2 separate regions of the Homo sapiens genome follow, and region 2 is linked to region 1. The links are contacts of gene promoters, found by promoter capture Hi-C in blood cells and fetal thymus (Javierre and others, 2016). All regions are on one chromosome and are shown on one strand. Each heading gives the region's core, a stretch centred on a gene start or on the middle of the fragment in contact. The rest is flanking DNA. Distances are from core to core; before and after follow the strand shown.

The links. Contacts are between HindIII fragments. The CHiCAGO score rates a contact against its expected background, and 5 or more counts as called.
Region 2: a contact is called between a fragment that was not itself captured here and the fragment with the promoter of TLNRD1 in region 1, in 1 of 17 cell types (monocytes). The highest score is 5.4, in monocytes.

The regions. Positions count from the first base shown.
Region 1 is chr15:80,997,357-81,004,092 of GRCh38, forward strand. TLNRD1 (talin rod domain containing 1) reads left to right here and starts at 3,567. Exons shown (of 1, transcript NM_022566.3): 1 at 3,567-6,736. The coding sequence starts at 4,916. The coding sequence ends at 6,004. LOC128071545 reads left to right here and starts at 4,786. Exons shown (of 1, transcript NM_001414893.1): 1 at 4,786-4,923. The coding sequence starts at 4,786. The coding sequence ends at 4,923. MIR4514 (microRNA 4514) reads right to left here and starts at 117; the gene lies at 61-117. RefSeq lists enhancers at 200-701, 5,358-6,242 and silencers at 3,195-3,884, 3,925-4,384, 4,735-4,864. The HindIII fragment of the contact is 6,287 bases long and covers 952-6,736 here.
Region 2 is chr15:80,476,196-80,482,931 of GRCh38, forward strand. All of the region lies in intron 5 of ARNT2 (aryl hydrocarbon receptor nuclear translocator 2), which reads left to right. It overlaps LOC124903537 (a long non-coding RNA gene), which reads left to right and starts at 3,750. Exons shown (of 2, transcript XR_007064731.1): 1 at 3,750-6,736. RefSeq lists enhancers at 3,690-4,609, 4,610-5,528. The HindIII fragment of the contact is 3,148 bases long and covers 1,795-4,942 here.

The sequences.
Region 1 (6,736 bases), core at 2,317-4,816:
AACATAAAAACAAAACAGAATGCCCATAATGTTCTCTTATACCAAGTGGTGGATGCACCTTCTAAAACAGGCAAGAGACGAGGTAAAAGATGTTTCCCCAATCCTGCCTGTCTCAACCTGTCAGTTCCTCTTGTCCTGCCCAAATCCTCAGTTCTCTCTTTGCAACTTGTTCACTTACTTTTCATCAGATGCCTATTTCAGTGTAGGCCTTGAGCCAGTATTGAGAATGCATTCTCTAGGGGCCAGGCCATTTACCAGCTCCCTCTCATCCACTCCATTTACCTTCCCTCAGCCAATCCTCAGTCCACACATTTTCCGCTTTCTTCTCTCACTCAACATCCATTAAAAAAAAAAATACTTAGTCCATTTGAGCTGCTATAACAAAATACCTTAGACTGGGTAATTTATAACTAATAGAAATTTATTGCTCACAGCTCTAGAGCTGGGAAGTAGAAGATCAAGGCCCCAGCAGGGGCCCATTCCTCATAGATGATGCGTCCTCTATGTTGCTGCATCCTCCCATGATGAAAGGGCAAAAGAGGTGAACAACTCTCTCACACCTCTTTTATAAGGCCACTAACCCCATTCAAGAGGGCTCCACCTCATGACTTAACCATCTCCCAAAGGCTCACCTTGTAATACTGTGACACTGGTGATTAAGTTTTAACATATGAATTTGGGGGTCAGATCACAGCAAATACTTTTGATTTATATTTATTTTAATTTTGAGAGGGTTAGAAGGGGTAATAGGTGGAGTTTTCTAAAGAAAAAGCCATTGCTTGAGTGACTCTAAGGGCAGACACCAACAAGCCATCCTCTAATTAGACTAAAAATATGCAACAGCAACAGACAACCCTCAAATCTCTGTGACTTAACACACCAATAATTTACTTTGTGTTCACATTGCATGTCCACTACAGATCAAGAGGGTCTGCTCCACATGGTCACCTAAGCTTACAGAGGCTCCACCAACTAGAATGCAGTCTCCGTGGTAGTTATAGGAGGGCAAGAGAGTGGAGAATTACAGATTGGCTTTTCATTGTCTCAGCCTAGAAGTAACCTGCATAGCTTCCCCTTACATTTCATTGGTCAGACAGAACCACATGGCCCTGCCTACCTACAAATATTGTATCTGTGAAGCCTGATTATCTCTGCTATAGGTTTTTTACTCTGTGCTCTCACTGTGCCAATAGTGAAATTGTGGCTGTTTCTTGTGAATCTACTCCTATCCCTGGACTCTAAAGAGTGGGGGCCTCATATTACAAATTATGTAACTTTGGTGCCTAGCACAAGACTGGTGCCCAGTGATTGTGGAGTGATTGAACAATCGGACAAAGTAAAGGTGAACCTAAAGAAAGGTGGAGGCAGTGCCTGGGAGGATCAGTTTAGGAGCTTCCCTATCTGAAAAATGAAGCAGGGAAGGCCGAGAAAACAATGCTATCAGTTTTAAAAATGAAACCAAACCTCACTGAATAGAGTGGACAGTCTGTGTGTAACACAACTCATTGTCGGGGTGGGTTTCCATCAACAACAAAACAGACTGCATATGTAGAAGAAAGGGAAAATGGGACCCCCAGGGGCACTACGTGGCTTTGGAAAAAAAATCTGATCTTAGAGCAGCCTCAAGAATAAACTAGGCACAGAACAGTCTGACTTCCCTCTCATAAGTTTTATTTATTTATTTATTTATTTTTTTTTGAGACGGAGTCTCCCTCTGTCGCCCAGGCTGCAGTGCAGTGGCGCGATCTCCGCTCACTGCAAGCTCCGCCTCCCGGGTTCATGCCATTCTCCTGCCTCAGCCTCCCGAGTAGCTGGGACTACAGGCGCCCGCCACCATGCCCGGCTAATTTTTTGCATTTTTAGTAGAGACGGGGTTTCACTGTGTTAGCCAGGATGGTCTTGATCTCCTGACCTCGTGATGCGCCTGCCTTGGCCTCCCAAAGTGCTGGGATTACAGGTGTGAGCCATCGCTTTCGGCCCCCTCTCATAAGTTTTTGGAGCTTAAGAAGGACTAAGGTGCAATCCCTGGGTCACCATGGAAAAACCTTGACTTATCCAGCTGTTTTTTTTTTCTCTTGTAGAAGAAAAAAAGGAATTAACCCTACATAATTACTTCCTATTTCAAGTCAGTTTTATTGACCTCGGTTTGCAAACTAAGTGGGCTCATCCGGATTCTAAAGATATTTAAGGATACTTTCAGTTATAAGTAGGATGACTATCCATCCAGGTTTGAACCTGCTGTTCATGGTTAATTTATTAATAGCATGTCTCACAGTTCATTCTCAGAAATGCTTGGATATGGCCGATAAATTGAAACGTCATCCTAGTTAAAAGTAACGTTTTTAACTGGCTGGAGAAAGGTGACTTGGGGTTCTAGGAAGGGACAGAGGAACAAACATTCTGTTGGCTCAGCACGCCCAGCCTGTGTTGGGCTGGGCACCTTAGAGGACCTGTTTCAGGACTGCGTGACTGGCGTTTTGCTGGGAGTAGCCCAGGTGTTTTAACCACTTCCTGAAGAACAAGGTTCGGTAAAAAGAGGCTGGGGCGTAGGCGTGGGTTCCTGTCCCTGCCATATGCTGTCTTCCTGATCTTCGGAAGTCACTTCAAGCACCTGATCATCAGTTTCCTTATCTGTAAAACTGGAGTAGTAATGTTTCCCTCCAAACGCCGTCGTATTTAATTCATTTAACAGCAGCCACTATTATTCCATTATACAGACGAATAAATAGACGTTATGAGAGGGCAAAGTGCGCTGATCAGGGCTCATAATAATTCTAACAGCTACTGTTTAGGAACCAAGTACTCAAGCAGCCTGTGCACAATCTCTAATTTCTAGAAGAGAAGACGGATACTTGGAAAGAGAACTTGAACAATGTCATGGAACTCATAAATGGCTTGAGAAAGGCTGATCCTAGGAAATCTGCTTCAGAACCCGCGCTCTCACTGCATAAGGCGTATTTCAAGGGAGGAACGGGCAGGCATCTAGCACCACTCTTCGGACTCCCCATCCAGTGCTCTTTTCCTCTTTTCGTTACACTGCACTGCTGGTCGGAAACCCATCGTGGAAGTGGATCAAACACAACAAAGGGCAGGGGGCGTTGGAAAACCGGGCGAAGTCGCGCAGACCGAGACGACCCACCGGCCCCAGCAAATCACCAGGGGCCGAAATCCAGTGTCCTCCTCCCTTCAGCCCAGAAGCCAGGTCACCTTTTAGACTTGCTCTCTTGGCGGGGAGGAAGCGTGGAGCCCCCTGGTCCGGCTAAGAGCTTACGTAAGGCCCGCGGGCGGCTGCGCCCCGGTCTCCCATGGGTGTGCGCAGAGCCCCCGGGCCGGAGCAGGCCTTCCCCTGTCCGCTCCCCCAGTCTCTCGGCCCAGGACCACGGGGGAGTTCAGGACCACCGGCCCCACGCCGGCAGCGTCCGCGTTGGGCGGCGGCGTCCCCCGCAGCCACCCAGCTTCCCGGGGGAGGAGCAGCGCATCGCGCAAGCATCCGGGAGCGGCGGAGGGGGCGGGAGGAAGGGCGAGAGGAGGAAGCGGGATTTAAACGAAAGGCGGTGACGCCACACAAAAGATTTCTATAGGCTCCAGGGAGGTTACGGCCGAGGCGGCGGCGGCGGCGAGCCCGGGGGCGAGGCGCGGACGGGAACAGGAAAAGCCTCCGGCAGCCCCTGCGGGCGGCGGCGCAGCCACGGCCGCGCTCCGAGGTGAAGCCGCGCGCGGAGAGGAAGCGGGTGTTTTCCCCTCTGCCTTTCGGCCCCCGCCCTTCCTTTCAGTTTCTGCCCGCTCGCTCGGAAGTTGGCGGTTGACAAAAATGGCAGGAGCCGGGGCCCGGGCCGGTTGCCGCAGCGCCGCGGGGACCTTCTGAGTTGGCCCGGTGGCAGGGAGACTCGTGCAGGGGCGTCCGATGCGCGGGGCCCGGGGCCTCGGGAGAGCTCAGCTGCTGCGGGCCCCAGACGAGGCGACAGGGATGGACTTGCGTAGACAGCCAGCGCCGGGCCGCCGGGCGCGCGGTCTGGGAGGGCGTGCCGCCGCGGCGCCGGGCCGCGCTCTGTGAACCGGCGAGGCGGGAAGGGGCCGCCGTGGTGCTCGGCACGCCCGGGCGTGTGGCGGGCGGGCGAGAGCTTGAGCGCGATCCGGGCGGCCGCTGTGCGCAATCAGTGCAGGCTCCCGCCCGACTCTGACTCGGCGCGGCCGCGACAGTGCCGGCCACACCCTCTGCCCCGCTGCCGCCGGCGCCGCTTCCCAAGAGCTGGAGGCAGGAGATGCGCCCGGGGCGGCCGCGCGTCCCAGAGAGCCAGCCCCGGCCGCCGTCGCGGGGAAGTGCCGCCTGGTGGGGTCACGGCGCCTGAAGCCCACGTGCGCCGCCGAGCCCGAGGTGGCCTCGAGCGCGGCGGCTGACAGCACAGCCCGCCTGAGCTGCCTCCCGCGCTCCTCCCCGAGGAAAGGATTTTGATTTCAAAGAAAGGAAGGAAGGAAGGACAACTCCCAGCTTCCCCGTCCCGCCCTCCCCGCTCCGAGGGCCGCGCCAGGCCATGCCCAAGAAGGCGGCGGCGGCGGCGAACCAGCAGAAGGGACTTTCCTGGCAGCCCGGCGACGAGGAGCGCGGACAGTGAGTTTGCTCTGCCCCGGTTCATGGTTCCTGCAAGCCCTCTAGGAGGCCGAAAGCTGCAGCCCCTCCCCTTGCCCCGAAGAGCCTTCCGCGTTCTCTCGCCCTCGGGCCCACCCCGCGCCGCCCGGGCTCCCGCCGCCGCAGCCCAGTGCCCTCTGCCCGCGGCGGTGGATGGCATGATGGTGCGGGGAAGGCACCGCGGCCTTGGCCAGCTGAGTCGCGACGGCCGCCGGGGCGGCGGCAGTGGCCGCGGCAGCGGCGGTGGTAGCGGGCTCCCCAGCGGCATGCCAGTGCCCCCCGGGCGCGATGGCTAGCGGCAGCGCCGGGAAGCCCACTGGCGAGGCGGCTTCTCCGGCTCCTGCGAGCGCCATCGGCGGGGCCAGCTCGCAGCCGCGGAAGAGGCTGGTATCCGTCTGCGACCACTGCAAGGGCAAGATGCAGCTGGTGGCTGACCTGCTGCTGCTGTCGAGCGAGGCGCGGCCCGTGCTCTTCGAGGGCCCCGCCTCCTCTGGTGCCGGCGCCGAGTCCTTCGAGCAGTGCCGGGACACCATCATCGCGCGCACCAAGGGGCTCTCCATCCTCACCCACGACGTGCAGAGCCAGCTCAACATGGGCCGCTTCGGGGAGGCGGGGGACAGCCTGGTGGAGCTGGGCGACCTGGTGGTGTCGCTGACCGAGTGCTCGGCCCACGCGGCCTATCTGGCCGCTGTGGCCACGCCGGGCGCCCAGCCCGCGCAGCCGGGCCTGGTGGACCGCTACCGCGTGACGCGATGCCGCCACGAGGTGGAGCAGGGTTGCGCCGTGCTGCGCGCCACGCCGCTGGCCGACATGACGCCGCAGCTGCTGCTGGAGGTGTCGCAGGGCCTGTCGCGCAACCTCAAGTTCCTGACGGACGCGTGCGCCCTGGCCAGTGACAAGTCACGGGACCGCTTTTCGCGGGAGCAGTTCAAGCTGGGCGTCAAGTGCATGAGCACCAGCGCGTCGGCGCTGCTGGCCTGCGTGCGCGAGGTGAAGGTGGCGCCCAGTGAGCTGGCGCGCAGCCGCTGTGCGCTCTTCAGCGGGCCCCTGGTGCAGGCAGTGAGCGCCCTGGTAGGCTTCGCCACCGAGCCGCAGTTCCTGGGTCGCGCGGCAGCTGTGAGCGCCGAGGGCAAGGCGGTGCAGACCGCCATCCTGGGCGGCGCCATGAGCGTGGTGTCGGCCTGCGTGCTCCTGACCCAGTGCCTCAGGGATCTGGCGCAGCACCCCGACGGGGGCGCCAAGATGTCGGACCACAGGGAGAGGCTGAGGAACTCGGCCTGCGCCGTGTCTGAAGGCTGCACCCTGCTATCTCAGGCTTTAAGGGAGAGGTCTTCGCCCAGGACTTTACCGCCAGTGAATTCCAATTCTGTGAATTAGCACCCCACCCCCATACCCCTTCTTCCACCCCCAGACTAAAGGAAGATACTTACTCTCTGCCCCTCTCCATTTATACCAAAGAAATCATAGGTGAAACCCCCTACCCTCCCCAACGTTAAATGCTCGAGAGGAATCTTCCACAAGGCAGGGCCATGCACGCAACCTGCACACGCACTTGGAGGGCCCAGGTGTCTCTCCACCAGCCCCCATGCAGTAGGGACTGGAAGATATGTCATCTGCTGGTTGTGTTATCACTCCCACCCCCTACCCCAGCCCGTCTTCCGGAATTTCTCAACTAAATTTCATTATTGGGCAGGAAGGAGGTCATGGGTTCATTTCATTTTTGTTTTTTGTGTTTTTAATTAAAAGAAAGGTTACCTCAGTTTTCACTCCTTAGACATGGATGTAGCTACCTTTTTTTGTATGTCTTTTTTTTTTTTAAGCAATCGTGTTGAATTAGGAGTATACTTGGTGTGGAAAGAGTATGAATTTGCCATGTGATTTGCAAATGGGGGGAAGCTACTGTGAGCGTGTGTTTTTTTAATTTACACTATAGAGTGATTTTTTTTTCCCCCAACGTCAAGTTTTTACCTTGCATGTACTGGAGTATTTATTTCATCTATTAAAATGTTATGTTTCTCAGATGGCTTTTTGCAATTATTGTTGATTTTTCAATAATTGTAATTTTGCATGCTGCATGTCATGTATGGGAAGGGTCTGTGGGAAGGCTAT
Region 2 (6,736 bases), core at 2,119-4,618, 520 kb before region 1:
TGGTAGGAGGACAGTCATGTGAAATCAGACGGAGAGTTTTAACTCCAAATGTGGATGAGTGTGGCTAATAACACACCGTGGGCCGAGAGAGCTGACTGATGTCTGAGGTATGTGAATTTTGTGTATTTCCGTGTGGCCCGGTTCAGCTAGGCACAACCTTTCTATGTTCATCTAGTTTTTCTTACAGATAAGCAAACACAACATTCACATTATGCTCAGATTGTTCCTTAATATGTCAATCACATTGGAACAAATTTGCATTGTTGAAACAAGAGTTATAGAAGCATTATACCAAAATATTTGCATTCTGCTCTATGACAGATATATTTGTGTTGTCATTCTCCCTGACCATATTGTGAGCTGTTGTATTCCCACTTGCTTTTGTGTCTGCCCACAGTGCTAAACTCAGTGCTTTGCCCATAGTAGGCCTTCAGCAGAAGCCTGATGAATTAGTGAGTGTGTTGTTTATTGTGGTCAGCCTAGGATGCCATAACAAAATACCACAGAATGGGTTACTTAAATAACAGAAATGTATTTTCTCATAGTTCTGGAGGCTGGGCATTCAGTGTCCTAATCCATTTGGGCTGCTATAACAAAATACAATAAACCGAATAGCTTTTATGTAACAGAAATTCATTTCTCACTGATATGGTTTAGATCTGTGTCCTCACCCAAATGTCATGTTCAATTGTAATTCCCAATGTTGGGGGCAGGCCCTGATGGGAGGTGATTGGATCATGGGGGTGGGTTCGCCTGAATGGTTTAGTACCATCCTCTTGGTCCTGCTCTCGTGATAGTGAGTGAGTTCTCACAAGATCTGGTTGTGTGTAGTACCTTCCCACTCTCTCTCTTAAGAGTTCCTGCTTCTGCCATGTAAGACACCTGCTTCCCTTCACCTTCCGCCATGATTGTAAGTTTCCTGAGGCCTCCTCAGAGGCCAAGCAGATATCAGCATCATGCTTTTTGTACAGCCTGCAGAATGGTGAGCCAATTAAACCTCTTTTCTTTGTGAATTACCCAGTCTCAGGTATTTGTTTATACAATGGGAGAACAGACTAATACAGTCAGAGTTCTAGAGGCTGGGAAGTCCAAGATCAAGGCACCTTGATGTCTGGCAAGGGCCTACTTTCTAGATGTTGCCTTCTAGCTGTGTCCTCACATGGTGGAAGGGACTAGCTATCTATCTGGGATCTGTTTTATAACAGTACCTAATCACCTCCTAAAGGCCCCATGTCCTAATATCATCATCTGGGAGATTAGAATTTCAGCGTACGAATTTGGGGAGAGCGTAAGCATTTAGTCCATTGCATTCAAGATCAGTATATCATCAGGTTTGTTGTCCCCTAAGGCCCTTCTCCTTGATTTGGAGATGGCCACCTTCTTGCATTCTCACAAGAATTATAACCAGCCTAAGTGTAGGTCTCTCCTCTGTGTGCACGAATCTTTTGTGTCTCTGCCTCTTCTTATGAGGACACCAGTCACTAAATTAGGGCTCACCCATATGATCTCATTTAAGCTTAACAATCTCTTTAAAAGTCCTGTCTCCCAAATACAGTCACATTCTGGGGTACTGGGGATTAAGACTTTAACATACTAATTTTAGCGGGGAACACAATTCCACCTATAATAACACTTATGATAAGAGTGAGTTTGATGTTGCTAAAAGTGAGAAGTGTACAGCTGTTTTGGAAGGATATTAGTAATTTTCTCAGTGCTGGTGATCAAAGATGTAAAAAAGGAGGAAGAGGATAGAGAATTAAGGTGTAAAGACAGTGTCTTTTTCTCCTGGCAGTAAGCTTTGATGTTCTTGTAAAACAGCGATGCTGAAATAGGCTCAGAAAGACTCTTTCTGCTACCCCATTCTCCTGCCTGAATTAGCAAACTCCATATAGAAATCCTAAGGGACACACCTTATAAAGTTAAATATTTGGGAGGAATGTAAAAGGGGAAAACCAACCAACCAGGAAATGTTGGTTTGACAGCTGAAATCACCTTCTCTGGAAAGTGCTGTCTTTCCCAGACTTCTATATGTGACCACAGGATGTGGCTTTTGGAAACCCAGTCTGGAGACCCAGCTGGGGAAGCTGCCAGGGAAGCGATGGTCAAGGCAGGTCAGGCTCTGGCCAAGGGTGTAGCCAGCTGGTTCATCATAGTTGGGTGGACATTTCTGTCCATGTGAAGTCTGAATGTGTCTGGGAGAGTTTAAACAGGCGATGTGAACCACATTTGGACAGAAATGTCCTCGGAGTGGACACTGGACTGTGGCCAAGGCAGCCAGAACCAGTACAGTGGAGGGTGTCCTCCAAGATGCCAGAGAAGGCCCTGTGAAAGGTGAAGAGCCAGGTCTCTGAGTTTGCCTATGGGCCAAGCCCGTCTTGTCAGGAACAAGATGAGGCTGGAGAAGTGGGTTCTTATTCTTAGGGTGGAAGAGAGGACAGGGTCTCTTTTGCAGTCATAGGGTGTGATGCGACTTTCCTAGAACATGCAACAAGCTCTTATTGATTCCGTGGGGGAGAGCTTGGAAGAGCTCTCTGAAACTGGGCTGCTACTCAGACAGGCCTTAGGGTTTTCCTGGTGCTCAGGACAGGACTGGAGTGGGTTTCATATGTAACCAGCCCAAGCATAATTTTAAAATTGTATTAAAAGGCCTCAGGTGTGGTTTAATGCCTTCAATTATTGGACTAGAGTCTCTCAAACCCTCCTGTCCCTTGACTCATGTGGTTTTAGGCCTGGAAAGAGGTGACATGGTCCACTTTGGGAGAGTCAGGGTGGAAGGGTGTTGAGGCGAGGCAGGGAGCCAGGCAAGGCCTGCTGGAGTGGAGGTGGCTTAACTAGGGCAGCCTGACCTCCTTTCCCAGTGGAGTTTCCCTCCTCTGAGCCTCTCTCAGTGGTGATTCAATGTCTCATTCGTTGGACCTGCAGGGTCACCTGTACTGAATGTGTGGAGGTTTGCATGTGCACAGGGGAGGGGACAAGAAACCTGACTTCACTGGGGCCTGCAGACTCCCATGTTGGCTCAGGGACCCCAGAAAATCAATATGCTGTCAAAGAGTTTCAGCATCTGGGGTGAGGGTGATGGTGGAGTTCTTTGTTGAATTAAATTTTTTCCTAGCTGGAGAGGTGGTGACAAAGAGTGGGTGAAAGGTTATATACAGTCTCCTTAGAAACATCATGGAGTGATGTGACTTGTCATGATCTGACTTGTCTGCGAATAAAACTGGAATTTATCCACATGGAGAGAGAATGGGTGAAGCCTTACCATACAACAATGACACTGCTAGTGGAAAAGTGCTGGAAAGGGAGTTGGGAGCTCCCTGCTTTTGTTCTGGTTTTCACTTTGTGATCTTGGCAAGTTCCTTTCTTCTCTAACCCTCATTCCCCTCATCTTGACCCAGGAAGTTTCTAAGGCTCCTTCCAGCTCTGATTCTACTCTTTTGTTCAAGGCCTCATCCACCAATGTATGAAATGGAGGCAGATTGGAGGAGGGGGACTGGTGAAAAACCCAAGAGGACCTATTCTGAAGGCTCAGCAGAAACAGGGTGCCTTCCTCCAGTGGTTGCCGCAAACATCCTGGGCCCGGCTCTCTTGGCTCATTTTGGTCTACCTGCCCTGCTGTTGGCTGATCCTGATGGCCAGGGAGACTCTGAGCTAAGATGTGAGGTCCACCTACCTCACCACCCAAGGCACTTGGATTCAGAAAGAGAAGATTCCCTCTTGGAGGAAATCAGGTGCTGTCTGTCACTAAAAGAAAGAAGAGACAAGTGGGCAGGCAGGCACTGGCTGGCTCAGGAGAGCTGGCCTCGGTGGTATTGGAGGAGCTCCTTATGGGGAAGGACGAGTGTTCTGCAGAATGAAAGTGCCTTTTCCTCTCACCAGGAATGCTGGGATGTTTGGGTTACAGGATTCTGAGAAGAAGATGGAGCATGGAGGTGCCAGGATCAGATGGGAGTGGTGTCAGGGAGGGGCCACAGAATTAATGATCCTGGATATCTGAGTGGCCTAAGCCCCAGCTCTCTGCAGGGAAGGAGAGGAGCTGAGGAGAGGCCCAGGGCATTCCAGGTGATAGCAGAGCCTGTGACTGTAACTGGATATGCCCAAGAGGTGGGGTTCAGAGAGCAAGCAGGGAGCAGCAGAAGCAGCTCAGCAGGGGCCGCCCAAGGGAGCATGGAGTGAGCAGATTCTTTGTGCCTTCCGGTGGCCTTTCCCAGGTTCCCTCCTGTGGCTGTTGAACTCTGGAGAACCTTGATCCTGGTGAGCAGAACTGGAGGCGCCTTGTGGGTGACCTCAAGCACTGCCCTGGGTGGGGACCGCCTGGCTGTCCTGGCTGGAAAGTGGATGTGCACAAGCATAACCCACGGACTCTTCAAGACAAGGTCGATTTGGCCTGTTTCCCCTGCATCATACTTCCATGGCTCTGTTTCTGCTGGACTCTTCCTGCATTCAGAGAATTGGGTCAGCATTTTGGTTCAGTGTAGAAAATAGCTTCAAAATAGAGCTGTCCAACAGCAGAAGAGGGTGCAAGCAAAGGCCAAATTCCTCCCTCCCTCCCTTCCTCTCCCCATCCTTCCTGCCTGCCTGCCTGCCTGCCTTCTTTGCTTCCTTTCTTCTCTCTCTCTCCCCTCCTTCCTCCTTCCCTCTTTCTTTCTTTCTCTGACCACTACTTAGTTTATTCATTTATTCATCCATTCAACAAATACCTGCCTTGCATGGCTGTAGAAAGGTTATGTGGGATGCAGCTTACCTTGCGATCAGCCTCTCCTTCCCCTATCTCCTATATGCAGGAATCCCCAGCTGTTGTTGAATGAATGGACCCCCATTTGCCAACTATTCCAGCCGGGATTCTTTGTGATAATTTGTAGAGAGCCTGAGCCAGGTTGGTCCCCAAGGGATCTGGCTGGAAAGTTCCTGTGCATGATTCACATGTCCCAATCAGCTGTGATTAAGCTTTCCTATCTCCCTGAGAGCTTCATGGAAATCCAGAGATATTTTCAGCCTTGGATCACAGGATTTGGCTAGGCTGTGGTCTGGGCACAGATAGCAGCTCACGAGAACAGCTCACCGGGGAGCCATTTTCAGCCAGCTCTGCAGCTCTGCTCATATACCTTTCATCAGGCTGCATTTCCATGAGAGTTTAAAGATGGTGCATTCACTGAAGAGTCTCCCTGCCTGGGAGAGAGGACGTCTGTGGGACACTCGGTGCATGTTGCATTTATTCTTCTCATTAAACCATCACAGCTGGGTGGGTGGCTCACACCTGTACTCCCAGCACTTTGGGAGGCTAAGGCAGGAGGACTGCTTGTGTCCAGGATTTTGAGACCAGCCGGAGTATCATAGCAAGACCTTACTTCTACAAAAAAATTTAAAAAAATTAGCTGGGTGTGGAGTCATGCACCTGTAGCTGCAGCTACTCAGGAGGCTGAAGTGGGAGGATCGCTTGAGCCCAAGAGGTCCAGGTTGCAGTGAGCCATGATTGTGCCTCTACACTCGAGCCTGGGTGACAGAGCGAGACCCTGTCTCAAATAAACAAATAAATAAATACCATAACAGTGAAATATTAATAGCTGTAATGAATTCTTTTACTTTTTTAGATATAGGGTCTCACTACATTGCCTAGGTTGTTCTCAAACTTCTGGCCTCAAGCAGTCCTTCAGCCTCATCCTCCCATGTAGCTGGGACTACAGGTGTACACCATCATGCCTGGCTCATTTTTAAATTTTTTTTGTAGAGACAAGGTCTTGCTCTGTCACCCAGGCTCGAGTGCAGTAGCACAGTCATAGCTTGCTGCAGCCTCTCTTGAGCCTAGGAGGGTCCCAAGCATTTCTCCCACCTCAGCTTCCCAAGTAGGTGAGACTACAGGTGGGTGTCACTGCACTCAGCTAATTTTTTAATTTTTTTGTAGAGATGAGGTCTTGCCATCTTGCCTAGGCTGGTCTCACACTCCTGGACTTAAACAGTCCTCCCATCTCAGCCTCCCAAAGTGCCAGGATTATAGGCATGAGCCACCGCAGTGGGCCATCTTGCATGTTTCTAGCACGTTTACCTATTTCAGTGGATATCAACCCTAGCTGCACATTAGCATCAATCACCTGGGTAGATTTGATAAATACACTTGCCCAGGATTGGGGAAGGGAGCTGGGCACTGGCGTTTTGTTAAACCTTCCCAGGTGATTTTGATGCACAGGAAGGGTTGAGAACCATTTGTTGTCTGGGGCTCATCAAGGTCCTATGCATGGGGATTATCGGCCCCATTTCACAGGTCAGGAGCATGAGGCTTGAAGTTACTGAGAAGTTCTCAGGGCCACACACCTGAGGCCAAACAGCTGCTACAAAGTAGAGCTCGTAGTCAATGCCAAAGAAGCTTATTGCCTTTGGGGCATCTAGAGACAAAAAAGCCTTGGCGTGACCCAATATCCCTGGGGCACCAGGAGCCAGAACAGCGTTTAGTGGGGTTTGGGCATATGAGTGGTGAATGGCATCAAAGCTCTGAGACTGAGGCTCGGATGCAGGGGTCTCTAGGATCCTGTGTAGTCTAGTGGAGCACTTCTCAAAGTGTAGTCCTTAGGCCAGATGCATGAGCATCACTTGTGAACTTGTTAGAAATGCAGATTCTTCCCCACTGAATCAGAAGCTCTGGAGGCCCAGAGATCTGTATTTTCACCTACCTTTCAAGTCATCGTGATGCATGTTAAAGTTTGAGAACAACTGACTTGGTGAAACCATCCTGGGACTTCATATC